Linked DNA regions of Homo sapiens: region 1 is linked to region 2. The links are contacts of gene promoters, found by promoter capture Hi-C in blood cells and fetal thymus (Javierre and others, 2016). All regions are on one chromosome and are shown on one strand. The core of a region is centred on a gene start or on the middle of the fragment in contact, and the rest is flanking DNA. Distances in the headings are between cores, read along the strand shown. Region 1 overlaps LOC124901280 (a long non-coding RNA gene). Region 2 holds the start of ALDH5A1 (aldehyde dehydrogenase 5 family member A1).

Region 1 (6,523 bases), core at 3,875-6,374, 290 kb before region 2:
TGGGGATTTTTGTTCTTCCTTCTGAATAGGACAGATGGAATTTGGCATTCTAACACTCATCTTGCCTACCTTCACCTGCCCTACTCTTCCTCTCTCGATGTAATTATGTCACAATTGTTGATTTAAAAAATATGATAGCTGGGCACAGTGGCTCACACCTGTAATCCCAGCACTTTGGGAAGCTGAGGTGGGAGGACTGCTTGAGGCGAAGAGTTTGAGACTACCCTGGGTAACATAGCAAGACCCATCTCTGTTATAAATAAATACATTAAAACCAAATAAGATTAATTCAATATTTTTCAAGGCTAAGTCATACAGGATATTATGATTACACTTCCTTCTTTCCACAGCTCTGTTTTCTCTGTAGTTTTTGTTTTGTTTTGTTTTTGAGATGGGAGTCTCGCTCTGTCGCCCAGGCTGGAGTGCAGTGACACGATTTCGGCTCACTGCAACCTCCGCCTCCCAGGTTCAAGTGATTCTCCCATCTCAGCCTCCCAAGCTGCTGGGACTACAGGCACGTGCCACCACGCCTGGCTAATTTTTTCATATTTTTAATAGAGATGGGGTTTCATCATATTGGCCAGGCTGATCTCAAACTCCTGACCTCGTGATCCACCTACCTCCGCCTCCCAAAGTGCTGGGATTACAGGCGTGAGCCACCACGCCCGGCTGGAGTTTGTTTTTTTACTTAGTTTTCTGAATACCTATCACTACTTTATTCCCACACTTTCCTCTATATGTCTAACATCTCTCAACACAATCATGCACTGAGTAACTGTCAGCTCCGGCTCCACCATCCTCTTGCTCCAATCTGGGCCTGCCCTTAGCTAACAAATACAGTATTTTAGGGGTTCCCTTCAACATCCAGGACCCCCCATTACCCCTCTCATCTTGAAGCCTCTGTTTCCTGTATACTCTCTCTTCCCTTTTCCTGGTTCATTCCAACATTTTAATTTCAAAATTTTTCAGTAGTTTCCAGAGAAAGAATGAAGGGGAGGTAAATGTTTTGAGCATTTGCATGTCCAGTGATGTCTTTATTCTTCACTTGATTAGTAATTTGACTTCAGCCTGTCCCTGAACCAAGAGAAGCAGCTGAGAACATCAGTGCTCTGTGCAAGCCCTCACTCCCCAGAAGAAGAAGGGAAGAGCTGAGGCAAGCACCTGAGGGCTATTCTTCCCAAAGTCACTAATCAGGTAAGTCCCTCATCTCCACTAAAACCAGGAGTGTTGCAGCTATTGGAGATTCCTACTCCAGGAAGAAAACATTAGATATGGAAAAGAAGCATATATGCAACCAATTAAAATGTATCAATTCATGTAAGGATAAAAAGAAAAGAAGTAGCTTCTTCTGTATCTTTCCAGAAGTATTCTTTCTATATATAAGAAAATATACATCTATCCCTTACGTCGTCCTTGTTTTAACATATAGTAGCATTCTATACATACATAATTTATTTCACACTTTGTTCTACATCTTAAAGAGTTTGATTCTTTTCCATTGCTTCAGAGTATTTCATTGTATGACTGTACTATACAGTTGACCCTTGAACAATATGGGTTTGAACTGCTCAGGTCCACTTATATGAAGATTTTCTTCTGCCTCGGCCACCCGAGACAGCTAGTCTGCCACCGAGACTCCCCTTCAGCCTACTCAATATGAAGATGATGAGGATGAAGACCCTTATGATGAACCACTTCTGCTTAATGAATAGTAAAAAATATTTTCTCTTCTTTATGATCGGCTTAATTCTTTTCTCTACCTTACTTTATTGTAAGAACACAGGATATAGGCCGGGTGCAGTGGCTCACGCCTGTAATCCCAGCACTTTGGGAGGCCGAGGAGGGTGGATCATGAGGTCAGGAGATCGAGACCATCCTGGCCAACATAGTGAAACCCCATCTCTACGAAAAATACAAAAATTAGCCGGGCATGGTGGTGTGTGCCTGTAGTCCCAGCTACTCAGGAGGCCGAGGCAGGAGAATCGCTTGAACCCAGGAGGCGGAGGTTGCGGATCGCACCACTGCACTCCAGCCTGGTAAACAGAGCGAAACTCCGTCTCAAAAAACAAAAAACAAAAAAAACAACAACACAGGATATAATACATATAACATACAAAATATGTGTTAATCAACTGTTTATATTATCAGCAAGGCTTCCAGTCAACATTAGGCTAATCATTAAGTTTTGAGAGAGTAAAAAATTATATGCAAGGCTGAGCATAGTGGCATGCCTGTAATCTCAGCTACCTGTAAGACTGAAGCAGGTGGATCACTTGAGCCCAGCCTAAAAAACATAAGACCTTGCCTCAAATAAAAAACTAATTTCAGCCGGGTGGGGTGGGGCTCATGCCTGTAATCCTAACACTTTGGGAGGCCTAGATGGGAGGATTGCTTGAATCGAGGAGTTCGAGACCCGTCTTGGCAACATAGTGAGACATCTCTACAAAAAAAATCAGCCAGGTGTGGTGGTGTGTGCCTATAGTCCCAGCTACTTGGGAGGCTGAGGCAGGAGGATCGCTTGAGCCCAGGAGGCAGAGGTTGTAGTGAGCCAAAATTGTGCCACTGCACTCCAGGTGACAGAGTGAGACCGTCTCAAATAACAATTTCAAAACAGAGAATTTATCTAGGTCAGGTGTGGTGGCTCACGCCTGCAATCCTGGCACTTTGGGAGGCTGAGGTGGGCAGATCACCTGAGTCCAGGAGTTTGAGACCAGCCTGGCCAACATGGTGAAACCCCCATCTCTACTAAAAATACAAAAATTAGCCAAACATGGTGGTGTGTGCCTGTAATCCCAGCTACTCGGGAGGCTGAGGCAGGAGAATCACTGGAAGCCAGAAGCAGAGGTTGCAGTGAGCCAAGATCACACCACTGCACGCAAGCCTGGGTGATAGAGCCAGACTCCATCTCAAAAAAAGAAAAAAAAAGAAAAAAGAAAAATTATCTAAATTTTAAAAGCAGAAGATAGCCAAAGAAAATTTATATTAGCCAGGCGTGGTGGCACGCGCCTGTAGTCACAGGTACTCGGGAGGCTGAGGCAGGAGAATCTCTTGAACCCAGGAGGCGGAGGTTGCAGTAAGCTGAGATGGTGCCACTGCACTCCAGCCTGGGCGACAGAGCTGAGACTGTCTCAAAAAAAAAAAAAAAAAAAAGAAAAGAAAAATTTATATGCAGATTTTCAACTGCACAGGTGTTGGCTTCCCTAATGGCTGCCTTGTTCAAGGGTGAACTGTAATTTATACAACCAGTCCTATACTGATGAACATTTAAGTTATTTCCAATATTTTGATAGTTCAAAGTTGTAATGAATAACCTTAAATATGTGTAATTTCACATGTGTGAGCATATCTGTTGAATAAATTTCTAGAAATGGAATTGCTTAGCCATACTTACATCGTTTGCTTTTGTTTTATTCTGTTCCCTGCATTGTGACTTTTGCCTCAACTTCTGTTGACTCTGCTTGGTCAGCACGGGATTATGATGTTTTTTACAGCTTACTGTCATTTTAATAATGTTTGGGAAAGACAGAAATTAAATGGCTCTGTTCAATTAACATGTTTAACCAGAAATTGCTGAAGGCCTCTCTGTGACAATGTTTACAGAAATTTTGGTTAACATTTTATCTACAGAAGATTAGCTTATAAGGTAGTCTAATAATATGTTCTATTCAAATTCCTTTTTGGTCTCTGGAACCTCTTTAAGTTGAAGGAGGTAAGATACAAGGTTCAGATTCGAGCTGAGGCATTTTTACTGTAAACCTTGAATTTTAAGCTGGCTTACCAAAGCTTTAACAACAGTGATTTTGTTTTCCTTTGCTGTCCCTCCTAAGTTCATCTCTCCCAACTTTTGAGTTTTGCTAGAAGCAAATCAGAGGATTTGCTTAAGGATTTGAAAGATATTATTTGGGAGGTGATCTCGGGAACTAGCAATAGGGAAGGGAAGAAAGCCAATAAAAGATGTATTATGAAGAAAGCTGCCACTGTAGGTAAACGGAAGCTTAATCCTGCTGGGGAACCATCTGGTAAACACACAACACACATGCCTTAAGAATTATTTCATCCAGAGGTCCCAAGGAGCTCAGATATGTATACACCAATTCTTATCCTTCTTGGTTGACCTAACAACCTAATTAGTTACAACCTAAAAGTCAACTGAAATATCTTGAAGGGTGTGGGATAGGCAAGGAAGTTTTCTAAACAAACCAAAATTACGAGGGCCGTAAGGCAGTGTGGTGGACGTTTGTTGCGTTTTGGCTCACTAGAATTTATTCTTTCTTCTAATAACACGTCAGTTTATTTGGGGGAGATATCTTACCCATGGTGTAGTCTTAAAATTCATTTCTATCTGCTCTTGGATTAGCTTTTCTCTTCCCTTCCTATAATTATCCTTTATTTGGTCTCATTGCATCCACCTCCAAAAGAATTGGAAATAATTGTGGTCCATCCTTTTCTAGCTCTTGACCTTGAAACTAATTCCAAAGCTTCACCATTAAGCATTATGTTAAGCATGGGTAGCATAGTTTATTTCAGGTTAAAATTCTTTTCTTTTCCTAGCTTACCAAGGGTTTTTACCAGAAAGGGTGTTGAATTTTATCAATGCTATTTTACCATCTATTAAGATGATATGCTTTTTCCCCTTTAATATAAAGAACTTCATGTTTACTAATATTATAGCAGTCTTGCATTCCTGAGATAAACCCTAACTTGGTCATCGTTTTATCTTTTAGTAGATTAGACTTGCCATTTTATTTATGATTTTTCAATCTGTATTAATAAGGCTCTAGATTCCCCTACTCCAACCTTACGGTCCATCCTCATTACCTTCTTTTTTTTTTTTTTTTTTTTTTTTTTGAGATGAGGTTTCGCTCGTTGCCCAGGCTGGAGTGCAAAGACGCGACCTTGGCTCACTGCATCCTCTACCTCCTGGGTTCAAGCAATTCTCCTGCCTCAGCTTCCCAAATAGCTGGGACTACAGGCATGCACCATCACGCCTGGCTAATTTTGTATTTTTAGTAGACAGGTTTTCACCATGTTTGTCAGGCTGGTCCTGAATTCCTGACCTCAGGTGATCTGCCCACCTGGGCCTCCCAAAGTGCTGGGATTACAGGCATAAGCCACCACACCTGGCTGGTCCATCCTCAAATCTTGATATCAGTTATGCTAGCCTTGTAAAATATATTGACAAATTAGTTCAGTCTAATCCAGGCTTCATGCATACTGTTTTTCCAACTGATTCTTATCCATTTGCCATTTCCTTAACGAAGCTCGACTGCATTTTATTAAACCAACTTCAAAGAACTTGTTCTAATGGGCCAGGCTTGATTGACTCCCTGACCCCTTCTCCAAGGTATTTTCATTGACATGTTTTTTGTTTTGTTGAGACAGAGCCTCACTCTGTTGCCGAGGCTGGAGTGCAGTGGCGCAATCTATGCTCACTGCAACTTCTGCCTCCCAGATTCAAGCAATTCTTGTGTGCCTCAGCCTCCCGAAGAGCTGTGACTACAGGTGTGCACCACCACGCCCAACTAATCTTTTGTATTTTTAGTAGACAAAGCATTTTGCCATGTTAGCCAGGCTGATGTTGAACTCCTGTCCTCAAGTGATCTGCCTGCCTCAGCCTCCCAAAGTGTAGGGATTACAGGCGTAGCCATCACACCCGGCTGACATGCTATACTAACATTTGATACCTAATTAAAAATCAGACTCATCTTCCACAGGAAATTCCTACAAATTCTCCATCACTAGGGTCAGTTCCCAGGGACTAGAAGCTTAAAATATGTCCCCCAAAACAGCCCCTACATGACCCTTAGGCAACTACTAATCTGCTTTCTCATTATACTTTGTAGTTTTGTGATTTTAAATAAATAGAAGCATACAGTATGTATTTACCTGGCTTCTTTCACACAACATTGAGATTCGTCCATGTGGCGTGTACCAATTTTTGTCCCCTTTTTATTGCTAAATAGTATTCCACTGTATAGTTATACCATAATTTATCCACTCAGTTACCAATGGATATTTGGGCTATTACAAATAAAGCTATGAAAATGTGTGAACTAGTCTTCATGTGGACATATGCTTTCGTTTCTCTTGGGTAAATACCCAGGGGTGGAATGGCTGAGTCATATAAAATGTGTATGTATAACTTTTAAGGAATTGTTCAACTTTTCCACAGCAGTTGTAGCATTTAGCACTGCCACCACCACTGCAGGAGGGTTTCAGATGTTTCACATCCTTAACACTCGATGGAGTTGTTTTTATTTTTCAAACTTAAAACAATTCTGAAAGGTATGTAGCAGTATCTGGTTGTCATTTAATTTGCACTTCCTTAATGACTAATGTTGAGCATCTTTTCATGCACTTAGTTTCCATCTCATACATACCCTAGTTCTTTATAGATACAAATCCTTTGTTGGCTATGTTCTGCAAATATGTTCCCCCAGTCTGTTCTTGCCTTTTCATTTGCTTGTCTTTCAAAAAGTTTTTAAAATTTACAACGTTTAATTTGAAGTTGATGCTTTTTTGT
Region 2 (7,250 bases), core at 109-2,608:
TAGATATTATGTTTGTTGTTTAGAGTTCTGATCTCTCTTCTGCTCCCCTTCCACCCCATGTGAGCTCCATAAGGGCAGAATCCTTCTTTCGTTTAACTGAGGTATCCCAAGCACCTCCAACAGTGCAGGGCATACAGCAGGTGCTCAGTAAACAGCTGATGGATGAATGAGTGCTAAGACTCTCTTGTACTCGTAGGGATCGCTGGATGCATTCCTTCAGAGGGAGAGCTTTGAAGGACACGGTAAAAAATTTCACTGCGTTGACTCCAGGTTTAATAATATAATATTAGAAGGAAGAAACTACTTTCTTAGTTTTCTTCTTACTCTATTCTTCCCATTTAATGGCCCTCCACCCCTTACTCCCAATTCTCCAGTGTTCTCTATGCAATGGCCAATAGCAGCATTTATCCATTTAGGGTGAAAACCTGGAGAACGCTCCTGGATTTCTCTCTTCCCCTGCACAAAACCCAAATCTTTCTACAGTTCTCTCCGTTTCCGATCCCATGATTCTGGCCAGGGGCCCTCACTACCAGCCTTCTCAAGGGCCGCTGAAGCAGCCTCCTGCGTGGGCTCCCTGCAGCTGCGGAGATATTTCAGCTACTCTGAAGGGCCACACGTGCTCTCACTTCCCTGACACCCCTCCCCTTTCTCCCCGCCCCTCCACGGTTAGGCTTGTTGACCATAACAAGCAGCTCGCTTGTATTAGGCGCTCACGTTCTGCCTCCCCTACTGGGCAGTGCATAACTTGATGAGGCTTGAGGGCAGGGGTCGTGTCCCTAGTGCCCGGCTCAAAGTGGAAGCTCCAAACTTATTTGTCGGTCGTCTCCCTTGTTGCTCTGACTTTCCACTTTGTATACCCTGGGGAACTGAGCACAGGAGGGAGGCGACGCGGCTGGTGTCACTTTGGGGTAAAGCCCCCTCTGCTCCCCGCCGTGTCCCCGGCCAGCTCTGGCCCCCTGCATCCGGGCTCTCTCACCTTGGCGGAGACCTCCCTCCAGCGGCAGAAAGCCTCGTAGGCAGCGCGCACGGCGGCGCGGGCCTCTCGCACCCCGCAGTCGGCTACCATGCCCAGAGCGGCGCCGCTGGCCGGGTCTTGCACGGGGAAGGTGGCGGCGGCCGGGAGCCAGCGGCCGCCCACGAAGCTGTCGGTGCGCAGCAGCGCCGCAGAGAGGCCCGCCAGGCGCCCAGCGTAGCAGCGGAGCTGGGCCGGGCCGGGCGCAGGCCCGGAGGCAGGGACCAGGCCGCCGGCGCGGGGGCGGAGGCGGCAGCCTGGAAACGTCGACCCGAGGCGCCGGGCCCCACAGCTCCGCAGCCAAATGCAGGTCGCCATGGCCCGGGCAACGACGGCGACAGGAAACAGGCAAGCGGGCGCGCGCGCACGGGAACGCAGGGGTCGCGGGGAAGCAAGAGGAGCGAGGAGGCGCCGGGGACGCGCGGGGAAAGCGTGGGAGCTGGCGGAAGGTTGCAGAGCCACAGAGCAGCGCCCTCTCTCCGCGTCTTTCTCGCTGCACCGCCGCGCCGCCCTCTGCACCTTGCCCTAAGCGCCGCGCGGCTTCTCTCCTGGCGCGACCTTCTCCCGGGGGAGGGTTGGGTTCGGGGATGGAGAAGGCTCGCCAGTAGATGCACCTGCGGACTGCTGTCACCTTTTCACTTTTCGGGTGCTCATTTGTCACTAACTGCTCCTGAGCCCCCAATCGCTGCTAGAGACCCACTCTCTCCCCTTAGCATCCCCCAAATTCGGCATCCCCGGAATTTGTGCGCGGTCCATAGATGCGCTGGTGCCTGCCCTAAATGCCAAGGCCGTGATCACGCTTCTTCAGTTGTAGCTCCTGAGCACGTAGTATTGATTGGGAGCGATCGTTCTCTGAGGGGTCGAAGTGTGACCCCGCGTTCTGCTGCCTGGCTGCTTTTTTGGGTGTGTGTCTAGGCATTCTCCTAGGGTTGCTCCCGATAAATAACAGCGCTTTGGAAATAAACAGACTAGGATCCAAACTCAAGTCTGTTGCCGACAAGCTGTGTGACCGACAGGTTAACCTTAGTCCAGTCACTTATAAAATAGAACCATATCTACCCCATTTTGTTGTGAGATAACGTAAAATGCTCATTACAGTTGCCACATTAAATTCAATATAGCGTTCAAAGTCATACTAGCTACCCTAGTCAAGCCACTAGTAAGATTAAAGTTGGGTCACCAACTAGTAAATGGAAGCATTTGTCAAAATTGAATCAACCAAGGTATAAGGATTGAGCATACTATCCAACCAAGGTATTTGAGCACCTTTAAACAGCATTCTTCATCCGTTAAAAAATTAGACTTGGGCTTAAGACTCTGAAAGCAGCAGGGAAGCTTAAAACCTAATGAGGATAAAAATAAAAATAGCAGGCGTATGCTGGGAATTTGTGGGTGCAAATGAAGCCCAGCCCTATGCATTGATTTTAGGTTACATATCTCCCTTTCTCAACTCCTACAGCGTTGAGAGTATCTTGCTAGCTTTCACCTTTTTCTAGGACGTTGAATTTTTTTCTAGGACATTTGCAAAATGCCGAGGCAGTAACTTTAAATTTTGACTTTGTCTTTTGCTGAGTCAGATCCATTGAGTTTTGAGCCAGTCACATATGGCAGAAGTGATAACAGTAGAGTTTAATCAATTTCACACTATTTTGCTCTGTATTTTATTGCAGGAACTGGGGAGAACCAGGGAGTCCTAATAGGGATGTGGGCCAGTAGGTATCACAGGTGGGGCTGGGGAGCTGGCGTGTTTACATCTCCTGCCTGCGGAGGGAGTTTTTGTTTTTGTTTTGTTTTGTTTTTGGTGGTGGTTTTTGTTTTTTGTTTGTTTTGTTCTTGTGAGACCGACAGACTCATTCTGTCACCCAGGGTGGAGTGCAGTGGTGCGATTTCAGCTCCCTGCAACTTCCGCCTCCCGGGTTCAAGCGATTCTCCTGCCTCAGCCTCCCGAGTAGATGGGGCTACAGGTGTGTGCCACCAAGCCCAGCTAATTTTTGTATTTTTAGTAGAGACAGGTTTTCACCGTGTTGGCCAGGCTGGTCTTGAATGCCTGACCTCAAGTTATCCGCCCTCCTTGGCCTCCCAAAGTGCTGGGATTACAGGGCTCATTTCTACTGGCCTGGGGAAATCATTCAATTGAGGCCTCAATCAACTGAGGCCCAGAAAAGCCAAGTTAATTGTGGCTGCCTCTCTTGTTCAAAAATTACCCTAGCCCACTTACCTTTTTAAGGTTCTATTTCAAACGGTACCCACTCCCTTTCCCAGATGACTTATCCATTACGCACAGTAGGTACGATGCCAAGGGCCCATAAAACTTTTAGGAGCACTCACAAATGTTTAATTTATTCTAAAATCTGAAGAAAAGAAGTTTTAGGTGGCATATTAATATGTTAATCTTACACCAATGCAGATGTAAAATGTGATTTCTATTTATTGTTTACTTATTTTTGTGACAGGAAGTACTTCACAAAGGCAAAAGCGCCTGGAGCTTAGAAAGTTCACAATGTGGCCCTCCCCTTTTCCCTCAGTTTTGTGCCCCTCTTCAAGCCCCCATTCAGAGTGTAAACAATTTCCTCCTGGCTCCTGTCTTACTTCCAGCCTGTCCTGATGCCCCCTAGCGCCTGGCTGGGTGTCTGTCCTTACCAGGGCCTACAAGGACAAGACCATCAGGTGAGAGGGACCTCTTCCCTCCTTTCTCCTTTGGCTGCCCTTGTCCTGGGAACCTCCACTCCCCAGTTCCCACCCTTATTCATCCTCTCCCCCATTTTCTTTTTCTTTTTTTTCTTTCACTTTTTTTTTTTTTTTTTTTTTTGAGTCAGGGTCTTACTCTGTCGCCCAGGCTGGAGTGCAATGGCACGATCTCAGCTCATTGCAACGTCTGCCTCCTGGGTTCAAGTGATTCTCCTGCCTCAGCCTCCAGAGTAGCTGGGAGTACAGGTGCGCGCCACCATGCCTGGCTAATTTTTGTATTGTTTAGTAGAGATGGGGTTTCACCATGTTGGCCAGGCTGGTCTTGAACTCCTGACCTCAGGTGATCTGCCCACCTCGGCCTCCCAAAGTGCTGGGATTACAGGCATGAGACACTGTGCCCAGCCTCTTCTCCCCCATTTTCTAGACTGGCCCACATAAAGCTTGAGACCCTCTGGCTTTCAAACCTGTATTCTCCCTACTCACTCCTTAATGTAACTGTATGTTTACTTTTCACCTTGGGTCTCTATTTCCAGAAGAGTTCTAAATGGTAGAATCATGCTGTCTTGTTTATAACAAAGCCACCTATATTAGGAAAGGGGGGTGTGGGGCAGAAAGAAAAATATTTCCATATGCTTATTATTTGTCAGATAGTAATATTGTGAGCTACGTTTTAACTTTCTTTAAAGTCATATCTTTGATGTTTTTATTGTTACCAAAGTAATACAAACTTCATAAAACTGCAAGCAATATTGTCATATAAAGACCATATTCATAACTATCACACTAAGCAAATAATTTCCTCTTATTTTATTACATTTATACGTTTATGTCATTCTGAATCTCAAATACAAAAAAATGCATAATGAGAAATTGAGACATTTGGGATTAGTATTGTTTGGTAACTGAACCCATTCCTTTTTTTTTTTTGAGGTGGGGTCTTGCCCAGGCTGGAGTGCAGTGGTGTGATCTCAGCTCACTGCAACCTTCACTTCCCAGGTACAGGCGATGTTCCCGCCTCAGCCTCCTGAGTAGCTTGGACCATAAGTGCATGCCACCATGCCCGGCTAATTTTTGTTTTTGTTTTTTTCTTGGTAGAGACGGGATTTTGCCATGTTGCACAGGCTGGTTTTGAACTCCTGGCCTCAAGCCATCTGCCCGCCTTGGCCTCCTAAAGTGCTGGGATTATAGGCGTGAGCCACCACACCTGTTCTGAACCCATTTCTTTGGTGCTTTTTGGATGGGTTTGTTGTATTATATATGGTTAGATATCTTTTCTAGCAGTATTTTTTTCCCCTGTAACCATTGATTGACTGCTCTTGGATGTTCTGAGAGACAATATCCAAAGTCCCAATTAATAATTGTGACTCCCTCACGCACAGTCTGTAGAAGGCCCAGAGTGACAGGGAGGCAAACTCAAAGGCCTCTGGTGGCCAGAAGGGGTGTGGAAACCTGCACACATTGCATGGATGGTGGGGACTGGAGGAGCAGGACATGCTCTATCAGGGGGCAGCTGGCTCTTTGGCTGCAGCTGGTTGTCGTGTCACATGGGAGCGTCAGTTCATGATGCCAGTTCTTTTGTTTTTAAGAGAGCCAGAAATCTAGATTTCTACGTGAATTTTCTCATTTAGAAAAAGTTCATAAACTTGATTTAAGTTTATAAAACATCCTGTTAGCCAAACAAAACACGTAGGCATATGGCCTCTGGACTAATCAGGAGTAGCTGGGCCTACTGCCCCTCAGGTCTGGGGGTAGCTGCGGGATTTCTTTCCTTGGGGCTGTGCACATGGCTGTGTTAAGCTTACAGGGGAAACTGTTGGGGCGACAACTGTTGTCAAATCATTCCACTTTCTTTTTTTCTTTTCTTTTTTTTTTTTTGAGACAGGGTCTTGCTCTGTCACCCAGGCTAGAGTGCAGTGGTGCAATCTCGGCTCACCGCAATCTCCACCTCCTGGGTTCAAGAGATCCTCCCACCTCAGCCTCCCCAGTAGCTGGGACTACAGTCACGTGCCACCACACCTGGCTAATTTTTGTATTTTTAGTAGAGACGGGGTCTTCACTATGTTGATCACGCTGGTCTCAAACTCCTGACCTCAGGTGATCCACCAGCCTCAGCCTCCCAGAGTGCTGGGATTACAGGTGTGGGCCGCCACGCCCAGCCAAATCATCCCACTTTCTATTCATCCTTTCATTTGGCAAACCTGAAGTGAATACTATTTCCTCCCACTCTTTTAGGAGCCCATCTCTTGCTTTTAATGTAAAATATGCATAATTTGTGTTTTAAGATTACCATCAGTTTCATGAAGAGCTTAATTTTTCCCATGGATGAAGTGTAAGTGGGTACCTGATAATATATCGTGAGCTTAACATTTTCCAAACCCTGTTTCTTGGCCCTAAATCTGCCCCCTTCCTTCCACCTCCCAAGTGGAATTGACATCTTTGCTTCAGCTGCAGGAATCTGACCTTGCAACAGGCTCTGGATAAGCCCTATTAGAACAGCCAGAGGTAGAGAGACCAGGAGTGGCTGCTCTTGTGTAATCCCATACAAGTGTCAGTATCTGTTGCCAAATACTGAAAAGGAAGCCAGTTCCAGCTGATTACCATAAAACTTTCCCAGCACTTGTGGCTTGGGAGGCGGAGGAAGCAGGACAGCCTGATAAATGTGTAGAAAGGATGCATGAGAGATCCACCCTTGTAAGGTGAGGTGGTCTAATATGTTGACTATCTGCACAGGTGAGCCTTTTTATAGAAAGCAAAAAATATCTGGAGACAACTTTGCTTGCATCTCTACACAAATTTCATGTTAAAATGAAATCCAGAAAAAACCTCGGTCAGAAGATGCAGTGCTTCTGGCCTAAGGCTTTTCAGATTTCAGTTTATCCTCCCAACCCCACCCCCCAGGAGCACAGAGTTTGTTTGCTGTTCTGGTGAAGCTAAACAGTAGTTGGACAGTTGACTTCATTGGAAAACGATATTATTTTGAAATGAGGCTTGGTTTCCTCGGTCAGTGACCTGCTTAGAGAGAAGCGGTGGGTCTGCACCTGGATTTTGGAGTCCCAGTGCTGCTGCAGCTCTGAGCATTCCCACGTCACCAGAGAAGCCGGTGGGCAATGAGATCATGTCTGCTTTCAGGTTGTGGCCTGGCCTGCTGATCATGTTGGGTTCTCTCTGCCATAGAGGTTCACCGTGTGGCCTTTCAACACACGTAGAAATAGGTAAGTACTGGTGTCTTGTTATGTTGTTGAGAGGACAATACATCTGTCAAAGACATTAAGGAAGAGACTGAAAATCCCGCTCGTGGATTGATACAGTTTCCCCTGGGCACTGAGCTGAGTGGCCTGACAGCAGGGAGGAGAAGCCGGTGATTGCAGTCATCCAGGGATAGGGATTGGCAGCATGACTTCAGTTAAGGGGCAAATAAGAAAGAGAGCTGATGCCCCATTGGTCATGGGACCCCTGTGTGTTTCTCTGGGTGGGGAAATAGTGAGAGGCTCAGTGAACGAGAGGTTGCAACGTGGCAGCAGAACTGACAGAATGGGAGAGGAACAAGATG

What was found. Contacts are between HindIII fragments. The CHiCAGO score rates a contact against its expected background, and 5 or more counts as called.
Region 1: a contact is called between a fragment that was not itself captured here and the fragment with the promoter of ALDH5A1 in region 2, in 1 of 17 cell types (total B cells). The highest score is 5.1, in total B cells.

Annotation. Positions count from the first base shown.
Region 1 is chr6:24,787,917-24,794,439 of GRCh38, reverse strand. It overlaps LOC124901280 (a long non-coding RNA gene), which reads left to right. Exons shown (of 3, transcript XR_007059510.1): 2 at 1,054-1,194; 3 at 1,573-1,641. Among named protein-coding and RNA genes, the nearest start is that of ARMH2, 7.7 kb to the left of the region's middle. The HindIII fragment of the contact is 1,287 bases long and covers 4,481-5,767 here.
Region 2 is chr6:24,489,077-24,496,326 of GRCh38, reverse strand. It overlaps ALDH5A1 (aldehyde dehydrogenase 5 family member A1), which reads right to left and starts at 1,358. Exons shown (of 10, transcript NM_001080.3): 1 at 977-1,358. The coding sequence starts at 1,330. GPLD1 (glycosylphosphatidylinositol specific phospholipase D1) reads left to right here and starts at 6,749. Exons shown (of 25, transcript NM_001503.4): 1 at 6,749-6,912. The coding sequence starts at 6,816. RefSeq lists a silencer at 963-1,352. The HindIII fragment of the contact is 3,166 bases long and covers 1-2,349 here.